Regions from separate parts of the Homo sapiens genome. Here region 2 is linked to region 1. Evidence: promoter capture Hi-C in 16 types of primary human blood cells and fetal thymus (Javierre and others, 2016). All regions are on one chromosome and are shown on one strand. The core of a region is centred on a gene start or on the middle of the fragment in contact, and the rest is flanking DNA. Distances in the headings are between cores, read along the strand shown.

Region 1 (5,410 bases), core at 1,574-4,073:
GGTAGATTGATTTTTGATAAGGGTGCCAAAACACTTCAATGAAAAAAGAGTCTTCTCAACAAGTGATGGTGGAACAACTGAATAACCACATTTTTGTTCTATCTGGGGCCCTGATTCAAAAACCCAGGCAAAGATGGAGAGAAATCAGAACTCTCATACACTGCTGATAGGAGGATAAAATGCTTACTTTGGAAAAGAATGTGGCAATTCCTCAAAAGGTTAAACAGTGTTACCATATGACCCAGCAAACCCACTTCTAGATATATAACCAAAAGAAATCAAAACATAAGTCTACAAAAAAACTTGTACATAAATGTTTATAACAGCACTATTCCCAATAGCCATAAAGTAGAAACAAACCAATGTCCATCGGCTGATGAATGAATAAATAAAATATGTTGTGGTATGTCCTTATAATAGATATTATTGGTCCATGAAAAACATACATAAAAACATTATGCTAAATGAAAGAAGCCAGTCACGGCAAAGCAATATATTATATGCCTCTATGTATACTAAATGTTCCAAATAGAAAGAAAGTAGATTAAAGATTGTCTAGGGCTGGGAGGGGAGGAGGAGGAGAATGGAGGAATCTGGGAGGCGATGAATTAAGGGTACTGAATTAGGGGAACATGGTTTCTTTTTGGGGAGATAGAAATGTAAAATTTTGGTAATGGTTGCACATCTCTGTAAATATACTAAAATCCATTAATTTTTGCATTTTATTTTATTTATTTTATTTTTGAGACGGAGTTTCGCTCTTGTTGCCCAGGCTGGAGTGCAATGGCATGATCTCGGCTCACCACAACCTCCGCCTCCCAGGTTCAAGCGATTCTCCTGTCTCAGCTTCCCGAGTAGCTGGAATTACAGGTGCATGCCACCACACCCAGCTAATTTTTTTTTTTTGAGATGAAGTCTTGCTCTTGTCTCCCATGCTGGAGTGTGATGGCACGATCTTAGCTCACTGCAACCTACGCCTCCCGGGTTCAAGCGATTCTCCTGCCTCAGCCTCTAATGTAGCTGGGATTACAGTTGCCTGCTATCACGCCCGGCTAATTTTTGTATTTTTAGTAAAGACGGGGTTTCACCATGTTGGCCAGGCTGGTCTCGAACCCCTGATCTCAGGTGATCTGCCTTCCTCGGCCGCCCAAAGTGCTGGGATTACAAGCGTGAGCCACTGAGCCGGGCCAATTTTTGCATTTTACATAGATGAATTATATGGTATGCTAATTATATCTTACCAAAAATTGAAAAAAAGGAATAGTACTATCAGCCCCAATGTGCCCATCATCAATATTCTACATGTTTCCAATGTTATTGTATCTGTTTGCCTACAGTCGAGGCCCTGATATCCTGTTTGATTTTCTTGAATTGCCAAAATTTGCATACATGCTTACAAAAATAATGCCTGTTGAATTTGCTAGATATGTAAAGGTTTGGAGCAAATCAGGTGTATTAAATTTATTAATATTGTTTGAAATGTCTAAGGCAATAATTCCCAAACTTCGTTGAGGGAGAAGGAAAGCTTTTAAAATCCCATTGCCCAGGTGGCATCCCATACTGTTACTGGGAATTATGCATTGGGATGGATCCTTTAACCGAGGAGATTATTATAGCCGGAGCTCTGAACCAGCAATCTCAGTTCTTGTGATAGTGAGCAAAGAACTACAAACTAACACCAAAATGCAAGCTTAAAGCAAAGTTTATTGAAGCACAATAATACACTCTGAGGGACAGCGGGCTTATTTCTGCGAAGTGAACTCAGCACTTCTTTACAGAGCTCAAGGTGCTTTTATGGGGTTTGTGGGGAGGAGTTGAGGTTTGGGCTGTATCTGAGTGACAGGATGATGTTATTTGATTGAAGTGTATAGCTATACAATCTAAAATTAAACTGTGCATGGTCTTACCTATAATTTGTTAAGAAAAGCCTCCCAGGGATGGGGGGGCAAAACTGTATGTAAATTCTATTATAATGATGGCATGATGAACTTGGGGTGAACTTGAAGACAGGCTTTTGTGTTGTTGGGCATGTGCCACCTTAGGGAATTTCCACCTGTACCCTCCTTTCTCTTTCTCCAGGATATTTTGGCCACAGACTTTATCATAAACTCCATCCCTTAGGGTGGCATTAGGGTAGTCTTGGGCCTGAATTTAGGTGGGCCAGTGGCTGTCTTAGTGACAGCCTTTCCGCTCTCTTCTGTCATCCCCTCCCAACTGCTAATGTCTAACTACCTAACAATTACCCATTAAATCAGTGTGTCTGGGGTTAGGAGCAGGCCTCAATATGTTTAATCATTCTCCAGATAATCCCAATACTGTAAAGTTTGTGAAACACTTGTCAGATAATTCAATTATGAAGGCTGTGGAAGGTGTTTCAGTAGGATCTAATTGGTTAATGTTATGACTTAATTAATTTGAATCAAAAAACAAAATGAAAAAGCTTTATATTTCTAAGTCAAATAAGACATAAGTTGGTCTAAGGTTGAGATAAAATTTTTAAATGTATGATTGAATTTTGAAAATCATAAATATTTAAATATCTAAAGTTCAGATCAGAACATTGCGAAGCTACTTTCCCCAATCAACAACACCCCTTCAGGATTTAAAAACCAAGGGGGACACTGGATCACCTAGTGTTTCACAAGCAGGTACCTTCTGCTGTAGGAGAGAGAGAACTAAAGTTCTGAAAGACCTGTTGCTTTTCACCAGGAAGTTTTACTGGGCATCTCCTGAGCCTAGGCAATAGCTGTAGGGTGACTTCTGGAGCCATCCCCGTTTCCCCGCCCCCCAAAAGAAGCGGAGATTTAACGGGGACGTGCGGCCAGAGCTGGGGAAATGGGCCCGCGAGCCAGGCCGGCGCTTCTCCTCCTGATGCTTTTGCAGACCGCGGTCCTGCAGGGGCGCTTGCTGCGTGAGTCCGAGGGCTGCGGGCGAACTAGGGGCGCGGCGGGGGTGGAAAAATCGAAACTAGCTTTTTCTTTGCGCTTGGGAGTTTGCTAACTTTGGAGGACCTGCTCAACCCTATCCGCAAGCCCCTCTCCCTACTTTCTGCGTCCAGACCCCGTGAGGGAGTGCCTACCACTGAACTGCAGATAGGGGTCCCTCGCCCCAGGACCTGCCCCCTCCCCCGGCTGTCCCGGCTCTGCGGAGTGACTTTTGGAACCGCCCACTCCCTTCCCCCAACTAGAATGCTTTTAAATAAATCTCGTAGTTCCTCACTTGAGCTGAGCTAAGCCTGGGGCTCCTTGAACCTGGAACTCGGGTTTATTTCCAATGTCAGCTGTGCAGTTTTTTCCCCAGTCATCTCCAAACAGGAAGTTCTTCCCTGAGTGCTTGCCGAGAAGGCTGAGCAAACCCACAGCAGGATCCGCACGGGGTTTCCACCTCAGAACGAATGCGTTGGGCGGTGGGGGCGCGAAAGAGTGGCGTTGGGGATCTGAATTCTTCACCATTCCACCCACTTTTGGTGAGACCTGGGGTGGAGGTCTCTAGGGTGGGAGGCTCCTGAGAGAGGCCTACCTCGGGCCTTTCCCCACTCTTGGCAATTGTTCTTTTGCCTGGAAAATTAAGTATATGTTAGTTTTGAACGTTTGAACTGAACAATTCTCTTTTCGGCTAGGCTTTATTGATTTGCAATGTGCTGTGTAATTAAGAGGCCTCTCTACAAAGTACTGATAATGAACATGTAAGCAATGCACTCACTTCTAAGTTACATTCATATCTGATCTTATTTGATTTTCACTAGGCATAGGGAGGTAGGAGCTAATAATACGTTTATTTTACTAGAAGTTAACTGGAATTCAGATTATATAACTCTTTTCAGGTTACAAAGAACATAAATAATCTGGTTTTCTGATGTTATTTCAAGTACTACAGCTGCTTCTAATCTTAGTTGACAGTGATTTTGCCCTGTAGTGTAGCACAGTGTTCTGTGGGTCACACGCCGGCCTCAGCACAGCACTTTGAGTTTTGGTACTACGTGTATCCACATTTTACACATGACAAGAATGAGGCATGGCACGGCCTGCTTCCTGGCAAATTTATTCAATGGTACACTGGGCTTTGGTGGCAGAGCTCATGTCTCCACTTCATAGCTATGATTCTTAAACATCACACTGCATTAGAGGTTGAATAATAAAATTTCATGTTGAGCAGAAATATTCATTGTTTACAAGTGTAAATGAGTCCCAGCCATGTGTTGCACTGTTCAAGCCCCAAGGGAGAGAGCAGGGAAACAAGTCTTTACCCTTTGATATTTTGCATTCTAGTGGGAGAGATGACAATAAGCAAATGAGCAGAAAGATATACAACATCAGGAAATCATGGGTGTTGTGAGAAGCAGAGAAGTCAGGGCAAGTCACTCTGGGGCTGACACTTGAGCAGAGACATGAAGGAAATAAGAATGATATTGACTGGGAGCAGTATTTCCCAGGCAAACTGAGTGGGCCTGGCAAGTTGGATTAAAAAGCGGGTTTTCTCAGCACTACTCATGTGTGTGTGTGTGGGGGGGGGGGGCGGCGTGGGGGTGGGAAGGGGGACTACCATCTGCATGTAGGATGTCTAGCAGTATCCTGTCCTCCCTACTCACTAGGTGCTAGGAGCACTCCCCCAGTCTTGACAACCAAAAATGTCTCTAAACTTTGCCACATGTCACCTAGTAGACAAACTCCTGGTTAAGAAGCTCGGGTTGAAAAAAATAAACAAGTAGTGCTGGGGAGTAGAGGCCAAGAAGTAGGTAATGGGCTCAGAAGAGGAGCCACAAACAAGGTTGTGCAGGCGCCTGTAGGCTGTGGTGTGAATTCTAGCCAAGGAGTAACAGTGATCTGTCACAGGCTTTTAAAAGATTGCTCTGGCTGCTATGTGGAAAGCAGAATGAAGGGAGCAACAGTAAAAGCAGGGAGCCCAGCCAGGAAGCTGTTACACAGTCCAGGCAAGAGGTAGTGGAGTGGGCTGGGTGGGAACAGAAAAGGGAGTGACAAACCATTGTCTCCTGAATATATTCTGAAGGAAGTTGCTGAAGGATTCTATGTTGTGTGAGAGAAAGAGAAGAATTGGCTGGGTGTAGTAGCTCATGCCAAGGAGGAGGCCAAGGAGAGCAGATTCCTGAGCTCAGGAGTTCAAGACCAGCCTGGGCAACACAGCAAAACCCCTTCTCTACAAAAAATACAAAAATTAGCTGGGTGTGGTGGCATGCACCTGTGATCCTAGCTACTCGGGAGGCTGAGGTGGAGGGTATTGCTTGAGCCCAGGAAGTTGAGGCTGCAGTGAGCCATGACTGTGCCACTGTACTTCAGCCTAGGTGACAGAGCAAGACCCTGTCTCCCCTGACCCCCTGAAAAAGAGAAGAGTTAAAGTTGACTTTGTTCTTTATTTTAATTTTATTGGCCTGAGCAGTGGGGTAATTGGCAAT
Region 2 (5,593 bases), core at 265-2,764, 1.1 Mb after region 1:
ATACTGAATTCAGCTACAGCAAGTTACAGCCAGTCATATCAATTTTTTTTTGTTTTCCAAAGGTGTATGGCAAGTTTTCTTTTATTGCAACATAAATGCAAAAATTTCTAAAGTATTTTAATGAAAAGTTTATCTTCATTTACTTTATGACATTTAAGTGGAATACTTTGAAAATACTTCAAGCACTGCTGTAAGGTACTCATTAAAATAAAGAGTAGCAAGAAAATCACCAAATGGGCCGGGTGCGGTGGCTCATATATTCAGTATATGATAATAAGTTCCTCAAATCAGTGGGGGAAATAGTTAATGTATTGTGCTGACTAACCAACTGATTAACTTTTTGAAAAGTTATTTCTATATACAAGAAATCAAGTCCTTATTAGTAAAGTTAGATTACTTTAAATGGTTCTACCCAGCATTAGTTAAGGTTGTAGGCATATCAGGAACTGCTACTGGTGCAGGGGCCAAGAGAAAACCTCCCTTTTGGCCTCTGAAAGTTCACTGAAAATCAACTGACAAGATTAATAAGAGAAAAGGCATACAAATTTATTAAGGTACAGGGCTGAGGACCACAGAATATTACCCCAACCCCCCAGTGGGGTACAGAAGCTTATATACTCTTTCTCAGAGGCAAAAGAGGAGATGGGTAATGTAGACAATTCTTTGAGGAACAGTAAATGATTATTAGAGAGAAGGAATGGACCAAGGAGACAGAAATTAACTTGTAAATGATTCTCTTTGGAATCTGAATGAGATCAAGAGGCCAGCTTTAGCTTGTGGAAAAGTCCATCTAGGTATGGTTGCATTCTCGTCTTCTTTTCTGCAGTAGATAATGAGGTAACCGAAGGCAATTGTGCTTCTTTTGATAAGAAGCTTTCTTGGTCATATCAGGAAATTCCAGAGAAAGTCCCTCCCTGTATTTGGGGAAGAGAAACAGGACAAAGTTAGAGGGACCTTGATTCTTAGACTTGTTTCTGAGAACCCTCAATTTTCAAAAACACCCACCATTACCAAGCTCGATATTTGGGGGGATAATTCTCCACCCCAAACACTAGAAATGAAAATAAGTAGAAAAGAACTTAGCAATATACCTGAACGATCTTTAAATTCTATGAGTCTATCTTGTTCTATTGCTAGGAATTTAGCATATGGAGTATATTTCCATTGTATATTAAGGAGAAAAATGCCACAAAATAGCATAGTTCCATACAAATAATGTTAAAGGAAAACATGCATATATGCAGAGATAACATTCTTTTTGCTTTATGTATCTTCTATAATGTTAACATTTTTGTTATGAGGCAGGAATCATGTTAAATGAAAAAAGGAAAAACAGCCTAGGTCTTGAGGATTAAAAAGGACTGAAGGAGAACAAGAGGGAGTAGAGCACAGCAGGCCTGTTTCCCTTTTAGGTCCCCTCCCCCAATGCAGAGGGACTTCCCGCCAAAGCTCTTCCGGTTTTCAGTCTGGTCCGCAGAGGTTACCCATAAAAGAAAGCTGCCATCACAGGCAGCAGACCTTTGTTCTCTGACCACTTGATAATGTCAGGACGCGGCAAAGGAGGTAAGGGCCTGGGGAAAGGGGGTGCCAAGCGCCACCGCAAGGTGCTGCGCGACAACATCCAGGGTATCACCAAGCCAGCCATTCGGCGCCTTGCTCGCCGCGGCGGCGTGAAGCGCATTTCTGGCCTCATCTATGAGGAGACCCGCGGAGTGTTGAAGGTGTTCCTGGAGAACGTGATCCGGGACGCCGTGACCTACACGGAGCACGCCAAGCGCAAGACGGTCACCGCCATGGACGTGGTCTACGCGCTCAAGCGCCAGGGCCGCACCCTCTATGGCTTCGGCGGCTAAATGGCATTTTGAAGCCCAGTCATTCTCTAAAAAGGCCCTTTTTAGGGCCCCTAAGCTTTCAACAAAAGAGTTGAAATGACTGCAAACTGAGTCTCTTAATAGGGCCATTGTCAGTGAGTTCTGTCATCCTATTTTACAAGATTAACTCGACGCCGAAAATGGGCTGATGACTACAGGTGACCTTGGGCCGAGATTTTTCCAAGGCCAGAAGAGCCTCTGCTGGCCAGTAACTTCTGGCGGCTGCCTGGAAATTGCCTGCAGCCGGTTTACCGCTCGGATTAGTTTAGAAAGCCAAGGGGTCTGCGGTCCAAATAGGGGCGGGCTAGATAATTAACTTCCCTCTGGACCTTCAAATACGTCTCAGGAGATAATGAGTTTGATGGGCTCCACTAAATGCTAGAACCTCCAGGAAAACTTCGTGGTGGCTGGTTTAAGAGGACTTGGCGGGCACAGAGCTCTGCATGGGGGGGAGGGGGACAGACCATGCTTTTACTACTGTAGAACAGTAGGGCAGTCTTAAGAGTCTTAGTAATAATATTCCTTTATATGTTTGCCTTTTAAATACTGGAATATATCAAGTATACAAAATGCGCTGGTGACCACACCACTTATTCAAGTGCATCTAAAATCCTTATGTCCCTTTCTCAGTAGCACAGCCCTCCCTTTTTCCTATCTAGAATTAACTAATATTCTAGGATAAACTGATATTCTAAATTTGTTTACTGTTCCCACGCGTTTTAACTTTAGATGCACATACCCCTAATCTATTTTAATCGTCATGAATTTTTACATTTGCTCTTGAAATATATCCGTGTTGAAATGTGCAGTTCTAGGTTATTTTTACCATTAATCTAGTTTTCTAATGTGTCAGTAAATACTTTATTCATTTCTCTGTTGATTTTTTTTCCTCATTACAAAACAGCACTGTATACAGCTGTGCATTTTCTGGTTACATGGAAGTGGAATTATTTGGTAAATGTGCATATTCAACATGAATAAAAATGAACAATTTGCTTTCCAGGGTAGTATTTTAAATTTATACTCCCATATTCCACCAGCAGTGCTTGAGAGTTATTGTTTATCAGCATTTCCTAATGTGAAATCGGAGTTTTTCTAAATGAGATTTTTGGCTATTTGGAGATTTTCCCGCTTTCCTCGGAATGGTCTATTCAGATTCTCTACAGTTTTTATTTTATGAGATTTGATTTGTAAATATTCTTTATATATTTGAGTTTTAACTTTTTGTCAGTATGTGACAAATATATTCTGTCACCTTGTGGGTTTGTTTTTAACTGTTCGTGATATCTTTGGATGTGCAAAATTTTAATAATGTTGGATTTATATTTTTTATAGTTTTTGAATGCTGCCTTTTCATAAAGGAGTTATCTGACTTCCACTTTCCCCAGGAGCTACAGGCATCAATCTGGGGGAAAAAAAAAAAACAAAAAACATTTAGGCGGCTTATGTCCTGATTTGGCTTGAATTGGATAGTAAGGCTTTTCTGAAATCGCTGTAAGAGTAGCATCAAGAGCGAGCTAAGGGAAGACCTGATAAAAGATTGATCTTACTTTCTAAATAAGCAATGATTAACAATACCTAAAATTTTCAAAGTATTACAAAAGGGACAAAAGAAAGGGTGAAAGAGGAAAGTAATGCCTAAGATACACTGAAAGTTTGTTGAAAATTGTTAAGTGCTTTACATGGATTATCTCGTATCTCATATTCTTGTGAGATAGATTTTATTACTCTTATTTTAAAATGGCAAAAGAGGCCAAATCAAATAACCAATTCACAAATGTTAGATTTTATGACCCAAACTTGTCTTTCTTTAATTTTTATTATTCCAGGAGCATAGATTCAAATTGCCCCGAACATACACTCACTCAAACCTGTAATATTCTTAATCACACTCTCTTAGTAGATAGATAAGCCATCACAGAGAGTAGTAGTGGTGCTAGTCCTATAATGAAGAATTTGGGGAAATGTGTCAGGACAGATGCAAAACCTGCTTGTCACTTAATCCCAATTGGAATGAATTATTTTCATGTGTCAGTTTGTGGGCCTGAGAAAGTCGTTTTTATTTTGTGTCTATATAGTTATGTTATTGTTAAATCTGCAGCAATGTAACACGTCCTTCCCTGTCATTTTTCATGTTCCAAGCCCAATGGATTAAACACTCCCTTAGGAAAAACCGTAGTAGGTGGTGATGCCAGAAGGAATTGTAATCCTTTGCATAGTGCCCTAGTGGGTTTTAGGTCAAGTTCTGCTCATTGAGTGTCTTATGGTATAGCACTAGCCATGCATGGAGTTTGAGCACTTACAATGTGGCATGTGACTGAGGGAGTAAGTGTTTAATTATATCTTAATTAGTTTACTTTTAAAAACTGGTGCTGGATTCAATTAGATAGCATTCAAGTATACTTGGAACACCTTAGGGACATGAATCAGAATCATCTTATTCTAATTACAGATCAAGAATTCCCCACGAAAATTTATTTTGATATACCATAAAAGTGTAAAATACACACCAGATTTTGAAGATTTGAAATGAAAAAAGAATACAAGATATTTAATACATTCTGTATTGACTATATGCTGAAACTATATTTTTGATATATTCTGTCAAATAGGATACACTATTAAAATTAACTTTTTTAACTTTTTTTTTGGAGACGAACTCTCGCTTTCGTCCCCCAGGCTGGAGTACAATGGTGTGATCTCGGCTCACTGCAACCTCCGCCTCCCGGGTTCAAGCAATTCTCCTGCCTCCGCCTCCCAAGTAGCTGGGATTACAGGTGCGTACTACCACGCCAGGCTAATTTTTTTGTATTTTAAGTAGAGACATGTTGGCCAGGCTGGTCTTGAACTCCTGACCTCAGGTCATCCGCCTGCCTCGGCCTCCCAAAGTGCCGGGATTACAGGCTTGAGCCACTGTGCCCAGACAATTTTTTTTAACTTTTAAAAATGGTTACTGGAAAGATAAGTACATGTATGACGTATTACATTCCCCCCCTCCTTTTTTTTTTTTTTTTTTTTGAGACAGTCTCGCTCTGTCGCCCAGGTTCGAGTGCAGTGGCACAATTTTGGCTCACTGCAACCTCAGCCTCCCGGGTTCAAGCCATTCTCCTGCCTCAGCCTCCCAAGCAGCTGGGACTACACTCATGTGAAACCATGCCCAACTAATTTTTGTATTTTTAGCAGAGACGGGGTTTCACCATACTGGCCAGGCAGGTCTCAAACTCCTGATCTTGTGATCCACCCACCTCGGCCTCCCAAAGTGCTGGGATTACAGGCATGAGCCATCGCACGTGGCCACATTATATTTCTATTTGAGTAGTGTCTTAAGAGTAACAAACTGGCTTTCAGACACATACAATAAAGACAAAAAAATCCTAGTTCAATAAAGAATGAGAAAGTAGGATAAAGCAAATGAACAAATTTCCCAGGCCCAGTGCGGTGGCTCACTGGCCCGGTTCACGCCAGCACTTTGGGAGGCCAAGGCAGGTGGATCACCTTAAGTCAGGAGTTCAGGACCAGCCTGGCCAACATGGTGAAATCCCATCTCTACTAAAAATATAAAAACTAGCCAGGCATGGTGGTGGGCACCTGTAATCCCAGCTACTCAGGAGGCTGAGGCAGGATAATTGCTTGAACAAAGGAGACAGAGGTTGCAGTGAGCTGACACAGTGCCACTGCACTCCAGCCTTGGCGACAGAGTAAGACTGTCTCAAAAAAAAGAA

The links. The method cuts DNA at HindIII sites, captures the fragments that hold promoters and counts their contacts. A CHiCAGO score of 5 or more calls a contact.
Region 2: the fragment with the promoter of H4C9 here is called in contact with the fragment with the promoter of HFE in region 1 in 2 of 17 cell types (naive B cells and total B cells); the score reaches 5.5 in naive B cells.

What each region holds. Positions count from the first base shown.
Region 1 is chr6:26,084,606-26,090,015 of GRCh38, forward strand. HFE (homeostatic iron regulator) reads left to right here and starts at 2,824. Exons shown (of 6, transcript NM_000410.4): 1 at 2,824-2,911. The coding sequence starts at 2,836. It also overlaps HFE-AS1. The HindIII fragment of the contact is 3,203 bases long and covers 2,439-5,410 here.
Region 2 is chr6:27,137,768-27,143,360 of GRCh38, forward strand. It overlaps H4C9 (H4 clustered histone 9), which reads left to right and starts at 1,515. Exons shown (of 1, transcript NM_003495.3): 1 at 1,515-1,911. The coding sequence starts at 1,542. The coding sequence ends at 1,853. It also overlaps a transcript of H2BC12 not described here. RefSeq lists enhancers at 1,329-1,708, 1,471-2,063, 2,064-2,655. The HindIII fragment of the contact is 1,035 bases long and covers 872-1,906 here.